Linked DNA regions of Homo sapiens: region 1 is linked to region 2. The links are contacts of gene promoters, found by promoter capture Hi-C in human tissues and cell types (Jung and others, 2019). All regions are on one chromosome and are shown on one strand. The core of a region is centred on a gene start or on the middle of the fragment in contact, and the rest is flanking DNA. Distances in the headings are between cores, read along the strand shown. Region 1 overlaps RNF103-CHMP3 (RNF103-CHMP3 readthrough). Region 2 holds the start of USP39 (ubiquitin specific peptidase 39).

Region 1 (4,935 bases), core at 1,086-3,585, 1.0 Mb before region 2:
ATTTTTTTCACTGCTGCACAAAGTATATCTTTGGATATACTTCCTGAAAGTGGAATGTAATTTGAGAAAGGCTTTCTGCGTTGCTGTGGGAAGCAGCTGAAACTGATGGTTATCTTTTTTGTTGTTTCAAGTATTTTTGTCAGCTGTATCTTTTACAAGACAAATCTTTTCCTTCTTTAGTACCTTATAGACATGTAGCGTGATAGACAAGAGTATGAGCTCGCTAGCAGTTTAACACTTGGATATTTGTAGGTTGCGGGTTATAAAACTCATATCTCACTATTAGGGTAGAGGAGAGGAACACACTCTGCAGAAGTGATAAATGTTTCTTTAGAGAAAATATAAAATCGTATATTATTCTTGCCCCTTGTTTGCTGACTGGTTTATGGCGATTCTTATTTCTACCATAGGGGGAAGAAGTGGAGTAACTAGGGTAAAAGATCTCTAATAAATAAACTCTCTTGGTTTAGAGATGAGAAGTGTCTCAACTGCCAAAGCCATCATTTTTTTATGGAAAATAATTTGGTCACACATTTTTTTTTCTTTTGACTGTTATTTATTATTGCCTTCTTTTGGGCCTAAAAATACTTGGCACATTGAATGTACTAGAAGTCCACATTTAACTTTAAGACGCACAGCCCAGTATGACTCAAATCACACGTTTTATGGCAGAAAAGTCATGGTATAGCAGTTTAAAATTTAAGTGTTTATTGTGAATGGTTTTGCTGCTATCATGGTGCAGTACTTGGTTTCTCACTGTTTAATATTTAAGGCGAAAGTTAAAATAATTTGATTTTAGTGTTTTCCTTTCCTTTTTGTTTAATGATACAAGCTCTAAATTTATAATATAAATTTGTATATGAATATGGAGTTTGTTCTGTCTAACAGGTAAAGTTCTAACCTCCAAGTCATACAAACCCTGTTGCTCTTTTAAGCAGGGCTGATGGCAAATTCTGTGAACCCAATTCTACATCTTTTAAGTAAGAAGCATATAAGCCATACTGTTTAAAAATGTATATGAAGCCTGTATGTGTCATTCATAAAACTAAATAATTAAGAAAGTTGTGCCTTTTTGGAGTGGTACAAATTTGGTAAGTTCCTAATAATTATGTGATAACCCCACTAAAATATAAGCCCTGTTCTATAAGAGATGGATTTTTGTCTATTTTGTTCACTTTTCCCTGATGCATAGGAAGTTCTTACTACATATTTATTGAATGTATGACTCCTAAGTGGGTATATCCAGGTTCTTCTAGTAGTTCTTGTCTATAAAATACAATGAAAGTACAATATCATGATTCTTAACAGTGTAAAAAATAGAATTACTGAAATTGGGAATCTAGGATTCTTGCAACCTTATTAGTGTTATTCTTTTCCTTTCTTCAGGTGACTTGATGGAGGGTGAGCTCTATTCTGCTCTCAAGGAAGAAGAAGCATCCGAATCGGTTTCTAGTACCAATTTCAGTGGTGAAATGCACTTCTATGAGCTTGTGGAAGACACAAAAGATGGCATCTGGCTGGTTCAGGTATGAAAAGCAGTAATAATTTGATAATTCGAGAGCCCTAAAAAAATTATTTTTACCAAAATAGTATGTACCAGCCAGTGACACTTCCGTGTCCTTGTGTCTTGTTTCTCACACATAACTCAGTTCTCTTAGGGAGGCTCCAGTATCTTCTTAAAAAGGTTTTGGAGACTGAGGAAGATGAAAATTGAGTAGTGGGAAAGAGAAAGATGGGGGATGGGGGTCAACTTTTTGTTTAGAATCCCCAGAAGCAAATCTATTTTAGTTATTGGACCTTTGTTGAATTGAGAAATACACATATATATCCCTTTTATTTAGTGATTTGCACTGTTTCTCTTAGTTTTTATTATCTCCAGTTTTTAATTCAGTGGCCTGAGTAATTTTTATATATAAGTAAGAACCCTAAAGTAAAAGTAAAGGAATCATTGTATTAGGGAAATAGCCAACTTTGTGACTATAGAGGAGCTGTTGTGGAAAATGGTGGGGGTGCTCATTACGTAACTCAGGATGATGAGATTATAATTTTTAACCCTTGTTTTTATGATAGCAAAACTGTGAGACTTAATTAGCATATTAGAATTTTAGAGCTATGATGGACCTTAAAAATATTTTATGCTTTCCAAGATGTAATTTATGGTGAGTGGGCATGCATTATCATTTACATATTTTAATGTAAATTAGAAAAATTATATTAACATAAATTTCATAAATTTTGCTTAGGACAGGACTAAAGTTATTTACATTTTAAAACTGTACATTCAAAGTGACATATCAAGTAAATTAACAGCGTGAATGTGGCTAAAATTATTAATGTAGTCTGTGAATGGCTGAAGCTTGGAAATTATATCAGACTAACCCTTTCTGAGACTCTGAGAGGTGAAGTAGCTTGCCCAAGGTCATGGAACTAGTTGGTAGTATTGAACCAGGATGAAACCCAGGTCTTCTGATTTCTTGACTGGTACTCTTATCATTTCACACTGGAGTGGGCAAAGTTTGATTCAGGGCATGAAAATTAAAACAGTTTCTTCATATTTCTTTCTGAGAGTAAAGACTGCAAAATATGGTAGGAAAAGCTATGAGTTCAGAGACATTAGTTGCAGGTCTGGTACTGTCGCTGTTACAGGTCTGGTACTGTCACTGACTAGCAGTATGATTGTAAATAGGTATATTTTTCTGTTGCACGTGGCCTCAAATAAATACATATACATCTAAAAAGGATAAAATGGTACTGTAGTCCACTGTGCTAAAGGGTTGAGGTTTGGGAATTCTTCCAGAGATTTACATTGTTCATCCATGGCCTTTCTTTATTGTATCCTTCCTATTGCATTTGTCCTTTTACCTTCCGGATAATCTAATTCAGTAATTTTTAAGTTCAGCAATGGGAGAGAATGTGAGAGTATGAGTGTAGTCTATACATTATCTATTTAAATTTTAGTTTATTTCTGTGTCAGTTGGAGTTGAAAAATAAGGTGGAGCTTTTTTAAAGCTTTAATGTATAAGTATATTGTTATTCTGTTTCTTTTCTCTGGTACTTATTTCTAATAGTCTGATTGAGAAAGACACTGGTTTTGATAATTTTAGATTTTATTACTGAGGATGAATTGAATAGCCAGTCCCACTGCCCTGCTTTCAGTGTCTAAATGTCACCCACATTGAATGATCCCATGGAAATAAATGGTGAAGATGTTGCACACCTTTGAAACTTGGAAGGGCTATGTCAAAAGTCTTGAGTTCTTTTGCTATATAGGCTGCTGCCTATAGACAACAAATACATTCTGGTTCAATAGTTAGCAGTATGTTCTTGGCTTGTAAATGATCTACTGTTTTTGATGTCCTGTTAAAGATATCCATGAATTAAGCTCCTGTAATAAATATGTGACAGAATTCATCAAAAGTTTATTCAGTTGTGGGTGTGCCAGGCCCTGTTCTGGGCCCTGAAGATATACCAGAAACACACACCAAGCTAAGGCCTTGCTCTGTCAGGCAGCTCACATTCTAGTTGGGAGAGGCAGACACCAAATAAATAAATATTTAATATAACATCAGTTAGTGGAAAGTAGTAAGAAGAAAAATAAGCAGATTAAGGAGATGAGAGTGGCAAGGAATTCTCTGGTAAGGTGACAAATGAAGTGAAGGACAAATAATGATAGTAAATGGTAGCATTATAAATTCTAGTTGCTAAATTTTTTTTCTCTGAAAATATTTTTAAACCTTATAGGTATTAATAGTTGAAAAACAACTCTTTAAAAATAGAATGTATTTCTGTGGTTTTTCTATGTATGGAAATAATGCAGTAGGACACCTGCTTAATTTTTCCAGTGATGCTCAAGGTTTGCATTGACCACCACTGTCTGGCTTGTGTTCCTTGAGGCCAGTGGCTTACATCTGTCAAATGGCTGGCCTGGTCTGAAAGAACAATCTCTGGCAGGACAACTGAGAAGAATGAGATTGAAACCCTGTCCTTGGCACTGTGAACTAGCCAGCTAAGCCAATCAGCACAGCCACCTTGGTTTAAGCCCTTAAAAGAGGGTTGTACTTTTTAAAACTATGCTTAAAATTGAAAATATCTACTAGAAACAGAAGAGAAATATTGTCTCCATTGCTTGCCATTCTTTCAGCTCAGATCATATATATTAATCTATTGTAAAGGATAACTTTCAAGAATTGTTTTTAACAATTTGAATTGTTGTTATTTTCTGTTTACAGTAGTCCCCCCTTATCTGAGGGGGATGCGTTCCAAGACCCCCAGTGGATGCCTGAAACCGTGGATAGTACCAAATCCTATATAGTCTATGTTTTTTCCTATACATACATACCTGTGATAAAGTTTAATGTGTAAGTTAGGCACAGTAACAACAACAACTAATAAAAATAGAACAATTATAACAGTATACTGAAATAACATTTATGTAAATGTGGTGTCTCTCTCTCCGAATATCTAATTGTATGTAGTATTTTCGGACTGCAGTTGACTGCAGAAAGTGAAACTGAGGGTAAGGGGAGACCACTGTATTTTAGAAGAAGCTGACTAATTTGTTCTCTGTCATTTGTTTTAAGTCTATGAGGAGTGTTTTCATAAATGAAGATGCACAGATGGCAGCCAGTTCAATCCTCTTCATATTTTTAAGCTTTTCCAGGTCCATGTTACGTATAGTCTCTGTAATGTGAACAGAATTTATTTTAGTTTTCAAGGTAGCAACATACATATGACATCTTTACCAATGACACACTATGAAATACATGTAGAACCAAGTGCTCTTTTTTCTAAGTTATTCCTAACATTGTTTTTCTCCTTTGTCCCTAACCCAAGCTCATATCTTTCATTAGCTATTCATTTAACAGTTTTGTGGATTCTTTGGCCCCAGTCTTCATAGCATTACAAATAGAAGATGGTTACTTTTCTTTCAAAAGA
Region 2 (4,932 bases), core at 472-2,971:
CTCAGATCTTACCCTACTCGCAAGCTAACAAGTTAGCCTGTCACAGTTTTATGAATGCTGATGGAAAGCATGTGACTACCTGGCCTGAAATAAAGGACAGTTTATTAGAGCAATGACAGTAGCCGGAATATAGCATTGGTGTCAGTTTTCCAAGTGAATTCCCACAAGGCAAAGTGAGGAGAACCCATGCACACAGTGAGCTGCCTTACAGGAGACGAACCCCGTGCTTAGAGAATCTGAACCATTAACCATTTTTTCAAACGAGGTCTCGCTCTGTTGCCTATCCTAGTCTTGAACTCTACCTCATCCTATAGAGTAGCTGCGATTACAGGTGTGAGCCACCACACCCTGCCCCAAATCTTTTATAAGGGATTGTGCCCTTGTCTCCTCGTTTTGTAGGGAGACACCATTTCTATCTTCCAAGGCTGCTCACTACACGAACATCCTTAACGAGAGTCCAGGAGAAAAGGCAGTCAGGCAATGGTCGCAGTACGTGCACAAACTCAAGAGACTAATGGAAAATTGTCTCCAGACTTTATTCAGCTTAAAAAGTGCTACATAATCCATACTTTAGTAGAGGTGCCTATTGCTCAAGCATTCTGAATATCTTGATTACAGAAATTACAAGACCTTAGATGTAAAAACTGAAGGAAAGCCGTGCACGGTGGCTCACGCCTGTAAACCCAGCACTTTGGGAGGCCGAGGTGAGTGGAACACTTGAGTCCAGGAGTTCGAGACCAGCCTAGGCAACATAGCGAGACTTGCTTCTCTTAAAACGCAAAAAAAAAAAAAAAAATTCTTTTTTAAAATGGAAGGAAGTAACACTTGTAAAATCAGCACTGAGCCCCCACATCGGGCATTCGATAAAGGGAAGCTGCTGTTGTTACGATTTTTGCAGTTAGAAATACCATACGTTTGGCCGGGCACGGTGGTTCACGCCTGTAATCCCAGCACTTTGGGAGGCCGAGGCGGGCGGATCACGAAGTCAGGAGATCGAGACCATCCTGGCTAACACGATGAAACCCCCTTCTCTACTAAAAACACAAAAAATTAGCCGGGCGTGGTGGCGGGAGCGGTGGTGGGCGCCTGTAATCCCAGCTACCTGGGAGGCGGAGGTAGGAGAATCGTTTGAACCGGGGAGGCAGAGGTTGCAGTGAGCCGAGATCGCGCCACTGCACTCCATCCTGGGTGACAGAATGAGACTCCATCTCAAAAAAAAAAAAAAAAAGAAAAAAGAAATACTATACGATTATTGAGAAGGGTACTGTCTTCATCAGAACAAGTCGAACAGCAGAATCGTCGAGTCTGGATCCCTCCTCTTCTCCACCCCAACCCCACCCCTCCCCCAACTCCGGCGCAGTGACCTAGCGGAAGATTAGAGACAAGAAAAAAGGACGCGAAAAAAACAGGCTCTCGCGCCTAGCCCGGCCCGGCCCCGCGCACCTCGCACCTCCCGCTCAGGCTCCGAGTCCTCATCGACCTCGCGCTCCCGCTTCACCCGCACAAACGGGACAACAGAAGCCGGGGCCTCGCGCGCGCTCGCCGGCTCGAACTCCCGCTTCACGCGCACAGGGCTGCCCCGGGAGCTCGCCGCCTCAGGCTCCCGCTCCCGATCTCGCTCCCGCTTGACGCGACCGGAGCTGCCCCGCGACTCAGACTCTCGCTTCCCGCGAGTGGAACCGCGAGACTCCCGCTTAGACCGGCCGGACATCTCCACTACCGGCCGAGTCGTCCAGCGCAGGCGCCAAGCACGCTCGAGCGCGCGGCACAAGGCCAATCAGGAGAGGGGCTGGTAGCGAGCCCCGAACTCTCTACGAGTCGCCACTGGGGACAAATCACGCTGCAGAAAATTTGTGGGCGGTGCTGTTCCTGCACTGGCTTCCTCTCCCCTTAGAACCTTCTGTGGGCCTACTGTCGTTTACAGTTTACTGAGACGGGAACCTTTACTGGCGACAGTTTTCTGGATAAAAGCTGTCAGGCCGGGCGCGGTGGCTTACGCCTGTAATCCCAGCACTTTGGGAGGCCGAGGCGGGTGGATCACCTGAGGTCGGGAGTTCGAGACCAACCTGACCAACATGGAGAAACCCCGTCTCTACTAAAAATACAAAATTAGCCCGGCATTGTGGCGCATGCCTGTAATCCCAGCTACTCGGGAGGCTAAGGCAGGAGAATCGCTTGAACCCAGGAGGCGGAGGTTGCGGTGAGCCGAGATCGCGCCATTGCACTCCAGCCTGGGCAACGAGCGAAACTCCGTCTCAAAAACAAAGAAGCTGTCATTCGGCCCCAGATTTGTGCCTCGAAACCACCACCGTGAGGTCGTTTCCCACAGTCTCCGCGGCTTGGGGGCTGACAATCCTGCACAGGAAAACTAGGCGACATTCCCAAATCATCCCCTTGACAGCCCTAATTCTACTTTTAGAAGGTTCTTGGTACCATGAAAACGCAAATGCCCGGTAAAGGCAGATTTACCATGAAGCTAATAAAGCTCTAACCTCAGGACCTGCCTTGAACTTGTTTGCTTGTTTGAACCGTTCCATTGAGGTATAATTGACATACAACAAACTACATGTTTAAAGTGTGCAATTTAGGCCAGGCGCTGTGGCTCATGCCTATAATACCAGCACTTTGGGAGGCCAAGGCGGGCGGATCACCTGAGGTCAGGACTGGAGACCAGCCTGGCCAATATGGTGAAACCCCATCTCTACTAAAAATACAAAAATTAGCCGGGCGTGGTGGCACGAGCCTGTTAACCCAGCTACTTAGGAGGCTGAGGCAGGAGAATCGCTTGAACCCGGGAGGCGGAGGTTGCAATGAGCCGAGATCGCCCCATTGCACTCCAGCCTGGGCAACCAGAGTGAAACTCTGTCATACCCACACCACACCACACCACACCACACCACACCACACCACACCACACCACACCACACTGTGTGCAATTTACTGAATTCTGACTTGCGGTATATGTCAGAGGCGTTTCAACCAGACCAACTCCATCTTGAGTGAGGGTTAGGAAAATGAGGCTGGGCCTTGACAGGCTGCATTCCCAGGAAGTTAGGTATTCCTAGCCTAGAGATGTCTACAGTTAAGGGAACAGAGAGATAATGTTTACTAAACAGATCCAGACTTGGGAGTGTCCTAATATCCCAATATCTGGAGAATAAAGGCATTCCTAATTTTGCTTTAAAGATAATATTTCTTCTTGCAAAATATAATAATAAAATTAATCCTTTATCACAAACCCTTGTAGCAGAGCACATCTCCCCATGATCTTTTTATCCTATATATAAACAAGCATTGTAGCCATGGTGGATGCGTTCCTCCTTTTACTTTCAGGAACGCCCTATTCTGTCAATGGAGTAGCTGTACTTTCACTACTTTACATTTTATTTTTTTGATACAGAGTCTTGCTCTGTCACCCAGGTTGGAGTGCATTGGTGAGATCTCGGCTCACTGCAACTTCTGCCTCCTGGGTTCAAGTGATTATCCTGCCTCAGACTCCTGAGTAGCTGGGATTACATGCACCTGCCACCATGCCCGGCTAATTTTTGTATTTTTAGTAGGCACAGAGTTTCACCATGTTGGCCAGGCTGGTATGGAAGTGCTGACCTCAAGTGATCCGCCCGCCTCCCCTTCCAAAGTGCAGGGATTACAGGCATAAGCCGCGACACCTGGCTACTTTACTTTCTTAATAAACTTGCTTTTACTTTGCACTGTGGACTCACCCTGAATTCTTTCTTGCACAAGATCCAAGAACCCTCTGCTGGGGTCTGAATAGGGATCCCTTTCCTGTAACATATACACCCATGAAGCCATCACCACAATCAAGAGACGGGATCTGGGCCCAGTACGGTGGCTCACACTTATAATCCCAGCACTTTGGGAGGCCTGAGGCAGGAGGATCACTTGAGGTCAGGAGTTCAAGACTAGCCTTGGCAACATAGAGAGACCCCCCCCATCTCCACAAAAAAATTTTAAAATTAGCTGGGCATGGTGGCATGCTATTCAGGAGGCTGAGGCAGGAGGATCGTTTGGGCCTGAGAGGTGGAGGCTGCAGTGAGCAGTGATTGCACCACTACAATCCAACCTATGCGACAGTGAGATCCTGCCTCAAAAAAATAAAAAAATAAAAAAAAATTTAAAGAATCTACCCAGCCCCAAAGATATCCTCTTCCTCCCAGAGAACCCCCACAAAAATCAACTGATCTCTCGGTCACTATAGATTAGTTTGCACTTCCTAGAGTCTCATATAAATGGAATCATACAGAGTCCCTGGCCTCTTTCACTGGGCATATTTATTTTATGATCCATCCATGTTGTTGAGCTACAGATCTTCCTTTGGATTGCTCAGTAATATTCCATCGTGTGGCTGGACCACCATTGGTCCCTGTTTTTTGTTTTTGTTTTTTGTTTTTTGATTTGGAGGTTGGACTGCAGTGGCTCGATCTCGGCTGACTGCAACCTCCGCCTCCCGGGTTCAAGCGATTCTCCTGCCTCAGCCTCCCAAGTAGCTGGGATTACAAGCACCGGCCATCAAGCCCAGCTAATTTTTTGTATTTTTTTTTAGTAGAGACGGGGTTTCACCATTTTGGCCAGGCTAGTCTCGAACTCCTGACCTCTTGATCTGCCCGCCTGGGCCTCCCAAAGTGCTGGGATTACAGGCGTGAGCCACCACGCCCGGCTCTTTCTTTCTTTTTTAATGTATTTTTTTCTTGTAGAGACGATGTCTCGCTGTGTTGCCCAGGCTGGTCTCAAATTCCTCCCTCCAGCGATACTCCCACTTCGGCATCCCAAAGTTTTGGAATTACAGACATGAGCCACTGCATCCAGCCGTTTGTCCCTGTCCTAATCATGAATTCCTGATTTTGACTTTTGTAAAAGGACTTGAGAATTTTACACGCTGTGACGTGAACCCAGTGGTCAGAAAAAATAGAA

The links. The method cuts DNA at HindIII sites, captures the fragments that hold promoters and counts their contacts. A contact is called where the count stands out against the background at its distance.
Region 1: a fragment that was not itself captured here is called in contact with the fragment with the promoter of USP39 in region 2 in 2 of the 25 tissues and cell types used here (dorsolateral prefrontal cortex and spleen).

Annotation. Positions count from the first base shown.
Region 1 is chr2:86,616,921-86,621,855 of GRCh38, reverse strand. RNF103-CHMP3 (RNF103-CHMP3 readthrough) reads left to right here. Exons shown (of 8, transcript NM_001198954.1): 3 at 1,387-1,526. The coding sequence starts at 1,395. It overlaps RNF103 (ring finger protein 103), which reads left to right. Exons shown (of 4, transcript NM_005667.4): 2 at 1,387-1,526. CHMP3-AS1 (CHMP3 and RNF103 antisense RNA 1) reads right to left here. Exons shown (of 6, transcript NR_183901.1): 6 at 4,407-4,680. Among named protein-coding and RNA genes, the nearest start is that of RNF103, 4.5 kb to the left of the region's middle. RefSeq lists a silencer at 4,515-4,564. The HindIII fragment of the contact is 6,359 bases long and covers 1-4,935 here.
Region 2 is chr2:85,612,975-85,617,906 of GRCh38, reverse strand. It overlaps USP39 (ubiquitin specific peptidase 39), which reads right to left and starts at 1,721. Exons shown (of 13, transcript NM_006590.4): 1 at 1,444-1,721. The coding sequence starts at 1,711. RefSeq lists enhancers at 1,928-1,977, 2,008-2,057. The HindIII fragment of the contact is 29,292 bases long and covers 1-4,932 here.